3 separate regions of the Homo sapiens genome follow, and all the other regions are linked to region 2. The links are contacts of gene promoters, found by promoter capture Hi-C in human tissues and cell types (Jung and others, 2019). All regions are on one chromosome and are shown on one strand. Each heading gives the region's core, a stretch centred on a gene start or on the middle of the fragment in contact. The rest is flanking DNA. Distances are from core to core; before and after follow the strand shown.

Region 1 (3,398 bases), core at 750-3,249, 240 kb after region 2:
AGTCTCACTCTGTTGCCCAGACTGGAGTGCAGTGGTGTAATCTCAGCTCACTGCAGCCTCCGCCTCCCAGGTTGAAGCAACTCTCCTGCCTCAGCCTCCCGAGTAGCTGGGACTACAGGCATTGCACCACCACACCTGGCTAATTTTTGTATTTTTAGTAGAGATGGGGTTTTGCCATGTTATCCAGGCTGGTCTCGAACTCCTGACCTCAGGTTATCTATCTGCCTTGGCCTCCCAAAGTGCTGGGATGACAGGCATGAGCCGCTGCGCTCAGCCTCTCAGTTCTTTATACAGTGAGATGATAAGTGTAGCTACCTGCTAAGATTGTTATGTGGTCAAGTGAAAATGCTTAAATACCCGGTACCTAGAAAGCACTCAGTAAACATTGGCTCTTACTGTTATAGTTATGAGAGGGTTCTTGAACAGTGATAAGAGGCAAGTCGCGTTTTAGCTAGCTTTAAAGGTTAAGTAGGATTTGAAAAGGCAGAGAGGACTGCGGGGGGAAGTCCCAGGCATGGAGTGTGATGTGAGGAAAGGATGGCAGTCAAAATACAAGGCATATATAGGAAATACTGATGAGAGGGCTTTTGTTGCATAGGGAAGGTTTATGGGGGGATTGATGGGAAAAGAAGCTTGAGGGAAAATTGGGACCAGGCACTGGAAAGTATTAACTGCAAGGCTGTAGAGTTTTAGAAAGAATAATCTGAAAGGTGGATTGTGGGAGAGAAGGGAGAAAATGAAGGCAGGGAACCAAAGAAAGGAAGCTGGACTTCATGGAACTAGATTAAAAAAAATAAGTATGGCCTGTAATCCCAGCTACTCAGGAGGCTGAGGCAGGAGAATTACTTGAACCCGAGAGGCGGATGTTGCAGTGAGCTGAGATCATGCCATTGCACTCCAGCCTGGGCGATAGAGCAAGACTCCGTTTCAATATATATGTATATATAATTTTTGTGCTGTTATATGTACATGATCCCTTTTTCACCAAAATTAAGAATATGTTTAGTGAGAGCCATAAAACTAAAAATGCTTTTGCTAGTTTAAAACTCGGTTTAACCCATCATGATAAAGCAGTTTAATGGTCTGTTTCTAAAACTTCAATTTGATGCTTAGTTTTGATGGCTGTAGAGGTGAAAAGAATAAATTCAGAAAGATTTGTAGCTTCAGATGGAAGAATCACAGTGTCAGTTCTGCTTAGTAACTTGTGATTGATCCAACCTATCAACCATGCTGAATTTTTGTTGTTGAAATGCAGGGTATAGTCTTACAAACTAATCAGGTGGTGGCATTTTATATTTTTAACAAATAGGCTTAAGACCCACCTGAAATTCTTCATTTGAAAGATTTTTAAACAGGTTAGAAAATATTTCCAAGTTTCTTTTTTTTTTCCTTTTTTTTTTTTTTTTTTTTTTGAGATGGAGTCTCACTTTGTTACCCAGGCTGGAGTGCAATGGCGTGATCTCAGTTCACTGCAACCTCAGCCTCCTGGGTTCAAGCGATTCTCCTGCCTCAGTCTCCCAAATAGCTGGGATTACAGGCGCCTGCTACCATGCCCAGCTAATTTTTTGTATTTTTAGTAGAGACGGGGTTTCACGATGATGGCCAAGCTGGTCTTGAACTCCTGACCGCAGGTGGCCCCCTGCTCCCTGCCTCAGCCTCCCAAAGTGCTGGTATTACAGGCATGAGCCACCTCACCCAGCCCCAAGTTTCTAAAATGTGAACATAGATGGGTTTTTCCTGGATACTTGACATCATTTTTGGCAGTTAAATTACATAACAATGGAACCATTTCATACAGCTGTTCCTGTAATTGCCCTTTCTTCACACTTTCTTTAAAGAAGCTGATTACTCATTGGTGACTTTTTCTTTGATTTAGACTGACATTGGTTTTTACCTCCTAATGTGGCTAAAACCTTACTCTAGATAGAAGCTTCATCTGTGCCATTTTCTTCTTGTTCACATCTGTTTATATTATTAGTGTGTCCTGTAATTGCAGTTTCTCTATAAGAATCTTTTTTTTTTTTTTTTTCCTTTTCCTGATAGGGCTTTGCTCTGTCACCCAGGCTGGAATGCAGTGGCGTGATCGTAGCTGACTGCAGCCTCAAACTTCTGGTTTCATGCAATCCTCCCACCTTAGCCTCCTGAGTAGCTGTGACTGCAGACACAGTCCCCATGCCCAGCTAATTTTTTTCTTTTTCATAGGGACAGGGTCTTGCTATGTTGCCCAGGCTGGTCTCAAACTTCTGGCTTCAAGCATCCTCCTGCCTCATCCTCCCAAAGGGCTGGAATTATAGGCATGAGCTACCATATCTGGCCACAAGAATCTTTAAAGCTGCTTGTCTCTTTTATGACAGAGTCTCGCTCTGTGGCCAGGATGGAGTGCAGTGGCGCGATCTCGGCTCACTGCAACCTCCGCCTCCTGGGTTCAAGTGATTCTCCTTCCTCAGCCTCCCAAGTAGCTGGGACTACAGGTGCCCGCCACCGCGCCCAGCTAATTTTTCTATTTTTAGTAGAGACAGGGTTTCACCATGTTGACCAGGATGGTCCCGATCTCCTGACCTCGTGATCCGCACGCCTTGGCCTCCCAAAGTTTTGGGATTATAGGCATGAGCCACTGCGCCCAGCCAAAGCTAGATTTAGAAATCCATTATTTCACATAACTGGTCTCAGATAAACCAGTCTACATCACAATGTCTAAAATGAACAACACCTGTGACAGGTCAGCACAGACTAAGTAAGTGTATTAGTGTCAATTTATAGCTTAATTTCTCTCTCTTTTAAGATACAGACATTCCAATTATTTTCTTTCTGTATCCTTTGCGGATCATCTTGTACTTTGGAAACCACAATTTAACTGCCCAAGTCACTCATAAAAATAGCAAAAGTAGCTGGATGGTACAAAAGTAGGTCCCAGGGCTTCAAATTTGGTTGAATATTGACTCCAGTAGGCAGCCACCTACTACTGAGCAAACCTAACCCTCAGTTATGTCATTTGTAAAACAGCACTTAACAGTTTGGCCGACCTGCTAGGGCTGTTGTAGGGACAAAAGAAGATGGTGCGTGTACTGCTTTAAGCCTGGCACCTGGCACTCTGCTAACATTCAGCTCTCTGGGCTGGGCACTGTTAATGCTCCATTTCGTAACCTGCTGTCAACCTGCAGGTAAATCACTCTGACTCCAAGCAAACACCCTGAGGGTGGAGTCGGCCTGTTTGAGGTTTCTGTTTGCAAATCTTGATATATGAAGTGACAGTGGAGATTGTACAGTTTTTTCCTCGATTTGTCAGGATTTTTTTTTTTTTGACGGAGTTTAACTTCTTGTCTCCCAGGTAGGAAGTGCAGTGGCGTAATCTCGGCTCACTACAACCTCCACCTCCTGGGTTCAAGCGTTTCTCCTGC
Region 2 (3,705 bases), core at 792-3,291:
ACTAATCTCTGCTTCTAAACTTTCTACAAGTTACATGACCTCTCAGGCCAGGACAAACTATTGAGTTAATGTGTCAGCAGCATTGGTCCCCAAGGAATGATCTAGGTGAATGTCTAGACTCACATGGTTCCGTGTCAAGGCAGAGGCTAGGCTGGGCAAACTGTGTAGTTTCTTTCCAGCTCCCCTCTGTTTGGTAGAGTAATGCTGCTTTTGGTTCCAATGAAGAGGCTAACAGAAAAGCCAGTCATCTATTGCACTTAATTGTGTTGGCCTAAGGAGGGCATTGTCTGCACTACAGTTTCTGACTCCTGGGCTGCATCAGCATCATCTAAGGCTAAGGTATTGTCTGCCCAGCTGCCTGAGTCTGTAGTGACCACCCCACAACATGGCAGACCACACACAGAGTGACACAGATGGTGCCTCTGTGTCCAGGCTTCAAGCAGATGAGATGCAAACATGTTTGTCCTTTGAGTGACCTCCACTACGGGGCCAGGACCCATGAATATCTCTTTGGAGTTCTACCCTGAGGGATGAGGAATATTTTCTTACTCCATTTTGATCCTACCTGGATGCTTTTGCTGTCATCACTGGCTCACAGTCTTGCTTACTCCTCTGCCCTGAGCGTTTAACATAACCTGCTAAGCAGGTTTGTTTGAAATAGGGGTATTAAAATGAACGTTGGGAAGGTATATTTTAAAAGATATATGCAATCTTGTCATAGAGTTATACATTTGTGCATTAGATTCATATTCCTGACATGATTCTGGAAAGGTGAGGTTATTTTACACACATTTATTGTAACAAATACTGAACTAACAGCCCTCATTTGTCACCTAGAAGGAACATGTTGGAAATAGACTATCTCCAAAAAAATCTGGTTTAAAATAGAATGAATTTAAGCCATATCAATTAGTGTTAAAAGGTCAGAAGATGGAAAATATGTTGCCACAACTCACTGAATTTCTAACCTTTCTGTGAAAGAATTAAAATGAGGTTTATATTTTCTATTTTCCTGTCATTATGATTCCCAAATCTTAGTAAGAGTGAAATTGAGGTAGAAGTGAAATGTGACATGTGAGAAGCCTCCACTACCCACAGTGGGGAGTGACTCTTCTCTCTACCTGCTCTAGGATGGCAGGATCCCACCAGTGAGAGGATTCATCCTCTTCTACTGCAACATAAAGGGGAAAATGTAAAATCCAAATTCTAGTTTAGTAAGGAGAAGCCAGGTTTCCACAGCCAAGTTTGGAATGAGATCCGTCACTACTTTCCTTCCTTATCCTCCTTGGGTCCAAACTATTGTCAAGTAGATCATCCTCAATCAATGCTATCCCAAAACCCTTCTTGCCACTAAAGATGGATGGGGAAGATGCTTATTTATTCCTTTATAGAGCTGCATAAGATCTACAATAACCTCTATATGTTTGTAGCATCCAACACTTAAGCTACTGCTCCTTGAACATCTTTTTTTTTTTTTTTTTTTTTTGAGACAGCCTCACTCTGTCACCCAGGCTGAAGTGCACTGGCATGATCTCAGCTCACTGCAACCTCCGCCTGCCGGGTTCAAGCAATTCTCCTGCCTCAGCCTCCCAAGTAGCTGGGAATACAGGCGTGCACCACCATGCCCAGCTAATTTTTGTATTTTTAGTAGAGACAGAGTTTCACCATGTTAGCCAGGCTGGTCTTGAACTCCTGACCTCAGGCAGTCCACTTGCCTTAGCCTCCCAAAGTGCTGGGATTACAGGTGTAAGCCACCACGCCCGGCCTGAACATCTTTTTTGATCTTCAAAACAGATAAGGGAAAGAGAGGCCTGATTAGCACCCCAAGTCCAAGGAAACAGAGAAGAGGAGCCTGGACAGTTACTCACAGATAGAGGAGCACCAGGCTGACAGCCAGGAGAAGCCAGGTTTCCATGGCCAAGTCTGGGATGAGAGCCATCACTACTTTCCTTACTTATCTCTCTCCTCTGAGTCTTCCTTTCAGCTCTGTGTTGCTCTTTGCTGGGCTATGTGCATGGAGCTTTCCTGCCCTGCACAGCAGTGATTCAGTGAGGCTGTTGGATTGTTTATATGCTAGAGAAGGAGGCAGGGCTGGAGCTGCAGCCAGTAGCAGGGCCACCTGTGCTCTGCCTGCAGTTGGAAGAGGCTTCTCCACCTTGGAAGTTGGCAAAGAATCACACACACACCACTCACTGACCTCCTTTGAGTTCATATTCTATGAGGTATCATAAACAACTCAATCAATGTTACTGGGGAGTCCAAGGGTTCTGGGTTCTTATCAGAAACTCAAGTGGAGCCATTGGCATAAAATCTATTAAATCGCCTCTCTCCTGCCCTTGTCTCTATGGCTGTCCTCATTCCAAAATACTTGAAATTCATCCCAACAAGCCACACCTACAGATCTTTACCTATGCCTGGAGTGTGCCTGTGCCCCCTAGAAGACTCCTACACATCCTTCCAAACCCAGACAGACAGAGCCTTCTCTTAGAGTCTTTCCTCACCAAACTCCTCACACAGATGTAACCATTTCCTCCCCTGGGCACTTTCCATCCCCTTCATGCAATCCTATTGTCCTCTTTCCTCTTTACCACCATTGTGTTTCCACGCCTGTTTCCCTGAACAGAGGTGAGCTCCTCAAGGGCATAGTCTAGTCTTATTCCCTGTCATGGCTCTGGTCCCTACCAGGGTGCTGTACACACAGTGGGCAACTAGAAAGGCTGGTGGAGTTGACTTAGCTGAGATTGCTGGGCCTCTGCATGTCATCCCTTCTGACTTTCTGGTGACTTCTTAGGTCATTAATACAGCCAGAGCTCTTGGCTGTGCCTCAGCTGCTGTCTCTGCACTTTCAGGCTGGTCCTCTGTGATTCTGTTGGCAAGGGGACCCCTAAAGGAGAGACAGGGCATGGATGAGATGGAGCTGATGGCTTGGTGGAATAGTATCAATTTGTGCTGCTTCCTGTGAACCCTTCAAAGGTCCTGCCATAGATAGCAAGTTAGACAGGTTCTTTGCCAAAGAGTGGCCCCTTCTCTCTGGAAATACTGCATGTCTGGAAACAGGAGAGAAAGGAGAGAAGAGAACAGCTGCCCAGATAGCCAGATGGACCCCAACCACCTCAGCCAGCAATGATGGGGCAGTGGTCACTGCAGGTCACACAGCATCAAGGACTCCAATAAGATGGTCCCAGCCTCTTGGGGGTGGAATTGGAGTTCAAAGCAAATGGCTTCCTTTTTGACAAGTGGAGGATTTTCTAATGGGAGGAGGGCAGGCCCCAGGAGCTGGTAGAGATGAGGCCTGTAATAGCAGTTGCTGCCACCTGTGAGCTCCCTGACCCATTCCTGATGGGAGAGATCTCAGTGATGAGGGTGTGAAAATTATATCAGCTCATTATCGTCACTCACACCCAAGTTCTGTGTCTGCCTGGCCTGATGAATGGATTGCATGACAAACAAAATCACAGCGTTCTTAAAACTCAATAGAAATAGGCGATGTTTAAGCTGTGCTTGTTCGCTTCCTTCTCTCTTTATTCTTTCTCACATTCAGCCCTCCTGCAGAAACTGATACTCACCCCAGAAAGACACCTTTTCCCATCCCTCTGGCCCCTAAGCCTCCAGGGCTGCTCGGCACCTGGCCTGAGTGGGTGAACATCATGCCAGATTCCTTGTCAGATTCAAGGCCAAGTGGGTGAATGTCATGTGCAGTGTTGT
Region 3 (3,290 bases), core at 728-3,227, 140 kb before region 2:
CCACATTTTCTTTATTCAGTCCGTAATTGATGGGTGTTTAGGTTAATTTCATATCTTTGCTATTGTGAGTAGTACTGCAGTGAACATATGTGTGCATGTGTCTTTATGATTTATATTCCTCTGGATATATACCCAGTAATGGGATTGCTGGGCCAAATGGTATTTCTGTCTTTAGATCTTTGAGGAATTGCCACACTATTTTCCATAATGGTTGAACTAATTCACACTCCCACCGACAGTGTATAAGTGTTTATTTTTCTCCACAACCTTGCCACACCTGTTATTTTTTGACTCTTTATTAATAGCCATTCTGACTGGTGTTAGATGGTATCTTATTGTGGTTTTGATTTGCACTTCTCTAGTAATCAGTGATGTTAAGCTTTTTTTTTATATGATTGTCGTCCACATGTATGTCTTCTTTTGAAAAATGTCTGTTCATGTCCATTGCCCATTTTTTAATTTTTTTTTCTTGTACATTTAAGTTCTTTATAGATGTTGGCTATTAGACCTTTGTTGGATGTATAGTTTGCATTTCTTTTCCCCAGTCTGTGTTCTTGGCACCTTTGTCAAAAATGAGTTCACTGTAGATGTGTAGATTTGTTACTGGGGTCTCTATTCTGTTCCATTGGTCTATGTGTCTGTTTTTATACCAGTACCAGGCTGTTTTGGTTACTATAGCTCTGTAGTATACTTTGAAGTCAGGTAAATGTGTTTCCTCCAGTTTTGTTCTTTTTGCTGATGTTAGCTTTGGCTCTTCTTGGTCTTTTGTGAATCCATACAAATTTTAGGATTAAAAAAATATTTCTGTGAAGAATGTCATTGGTATTTTGATAGGGATTGCATTGAATCCATATATTGCTTTGGGTATTGTGGGCATTTTTAACAATATTGATTCTTGAAATATATAAACATGGAATATCTTTCTATGTTTTTGTGTCCTCTTCAATTTCTTTCATCGGTGTTTTATAGTTTTCATTGTAGAGATCTTTCACTTCTTTGATTAAGTTAATTCCTAGGTATTTAATTTTATTTGTGGCTATTGATTTTATTTCAGATTGTTCCTTGCTGGCATATAGAAGTGCTACCAATTTTGTACGTTGATTTTGTATCCTGCAAATTTACTGAATTTGTTTATCAGTTCTAATAGTTCTTTGGTGGAGTCTTTAGGTTTTTAAAATATCATTTGGAAGTCATATGGAAATATCATTTAGAAATCATTTCCAAATACCATTTAGAAACCATTTGAGTGTTTTCTTACTTCCTGGCACAAAAAGTGTCCTGGGCTCATCTTGAACATTTTTAGTCCTAGCCCTGGCATCAGCTATTTCTCTAACGAGCTCTGGTTCCCTTCAGTGGAAAATGATATTCATAAGCCAAGATCTAGGCACTAAGTATACTCATTGCTATTGAAATGTCATTGTTATCTAGCCCTATCAGTGAAGTAGGGAATATATGTTTTATACACACACACACACACACACACACACACACACACACACACATGCATGCTCACACATACAAACACATATATTTACATCTAATTATCTATCAACTATCTATTATCTATCTATCATCTGTCTATCTATCCATCTATCTATCTAGAAAAGTATGAATGTACACTGATACATCCATTCCAATCTAACACCATAGGATTAATGCTAGCTTTCTCCCTTTCTGAATCTATGACTCTTTTCTGCAAAAGTGACACACCTAGCTTCCAGTATACTTTATTTACTTATGTGATCAATCCCTTCTATGTAGCCAACTCTCACCCATCCCTTCCCACTCAGGGATACCCTCCTCACCTCACGTGGGTTCTCCAGGCCCTATTTAGGCTCTGGCTGCTCTTGAAGGCCACACCTCTGTGTGGACCCCTTCTCTGATTGCTTGGGCTCCCGCTTCCAGGTCAGGCTGCCCCTCCATGTGGATGCCTTCCCCAGCACACTTGGAATCTGACTTGGAGCCACCATGACTCTCTTGTCCACCTTAATGTGTGGCTACCACATGGCTGCAACCCACCTAATGGCTTTAGTATTCAGAAAAGGAGGGAAAATGAAAGAATAAAAAAGGAAAATGAATAGTGCTTTTAGACATGCTGCCCAATCAACTGACGAATTGACAATTTTTTATTCAGTGTTCATTGCATTAAGACAATTGGGAGGTGAAGATGGAATGCAAGACGTATAAGAAAACATGTTTCCTGTGTTCCAGAAATGTCAGGGGAGATGTGGTAAAAATAATAAATCATAACTAATAATATGATAAGTGCTTCGTTGAGTGTTACAAAAAATATGTTCTTCAAAGAAGGCAGAATGAAACTATGAATATTTTCTCCAAACAATGGGCAAAGTCACAGCAGATTAACTCTCACCTATGTTAATAATCAAATTGGAATTCTGACAAAGGCCCCACACCAACAGTGATTACAATGATAAAAAATGTTTATTTGCTGGTTTTCAGTCATTCAGTTCTATAGATTTCTCTTTAGTGTGCAGGATGGCATCAGATAATATTTTTGTAAAGGGGATTTTATCACTTCGCTTAATATAAAACTTATAGAATATTACAAATAAAACGTGATATAAATGTCACTATTAGAGTCATCATGATAATTCTTATTTTTCTTAAAAGTTATGGATCAAATTGTTGAGAAATATTTATTCTCTGATGAGAGCTCAGGAGGAGTTGATAATGCTAACTAGAGGTGGGTAGAGGTAGTCCTATGAGAAGCAGAGAAGCTGAGTCTACCTATCTGTCACTTACCTGGTCACCTCCTTTATACTACATAATGCACAACACTCTACACAGACTCTGGGAGAGCTCAATGAATGTACAAAATCACCAACTACTCATGCAGTACATTAGATTAAGCCCATCTTTATTTCAAGGTTTTATTGACTAAGTTGAAATCTCTGGTGTTCTGGGGCACAGCTTTCTTGAAGACCAAAGTAGAAATCCTTAGAATAACTCATTCTCCACTTAGGGTTCCATCTCTTGAATCCACCTTTAGAACAATGGGTTTTTCTGGTTGAAGAAGTCCTTGCGTGTCTAATTTCAAGGGGATCTACAATAGTTAAACAAGCATATGGAGAATTAATAAATGAAGTGAAAGAAGAAAAGATGGAAGCAAAGTAGAAAAAATATGACAAAAATGCTTTGCAAGCATATAAAAACGACTCTTAACACCATGTATCTTGAACTCTTCATACTTAATCTATAAGCTGGGTAAATACTGGATAGTAAAAGCACTCACCATCCATCGTTTAACAAAATATTTATGGAGCACTGAC

Evidence for each region. Contacts are between HindIII fragments. The study calls those that stand out against the background at their distance.
Region 1: a contact is called between a fragment that was not itself captured here and the fragment with the promoter of CYP3A4 in region 2, in 1 of the 25 tissues and cell types used here (pancreas).
Region 3: a contact is called between a fragment that was not itself captured here and the fragment with the promoter of CYP3A4 in region 2, in 2 of the 25 tissues and cell types used here (heart left ventricle and mesendoderm cells).

The regions. Positions count from the first base shown.
Region 1 is chr7:100,019,727-100,023,124 of GRCh38, forward strand. All of the region lies in intron 1 of ZKSCAN1 (zinc finger with KRAB and SCAN domains 1), which reads left to right. Among named protein-coding and RNA genes, the nearest start is that of ZKSCAN1, 5.8 kb to the left of the region's middle. The HindIII fragment of the contact is 5,144 bases long and covers 1-3,398 here.
Region 2 is chr7:99,782,143-99,785,847 of GRCh38, forward strand. CYP3A4 (cytochrome P450 family 3 subfamily A member 4) reads right to left here and starts at 2,042. Exons shown (of 13, transcript NM_017460.6): 1 at 1,869-2,042. The coding sequence starts at 1,939. RefSeq lists promoters at 1,990-3,294, 1,990-2,404, 1,992-3,705, 2,037-3,705, a silencer at 2,113-2,170 and an enhancer at 2,191-2,214. The HindIII fragment of the contact is 10,602 bases long and covers 1-3,705 here.
Region 3 is chr7:99,645,337-99,648,626 of GRCh38, forward strand. CYP3A5 (cytochrome P450 family 3 subfamily A member 5) reads right to left here. Exons shown (of 13, transcript NM_000777.5): 13 at 2,858-3,064. The coding sequence ends at 2,969. It also overlaps a transcript of ZSCAN25 not described here. Among named protein-coding and RNA genes, the nearest start is that of ZSCAN25, 30 kb to the left of the region's middle. The HindIII fragment of the contact is 7,540 bases long and covers 1-3,290 here.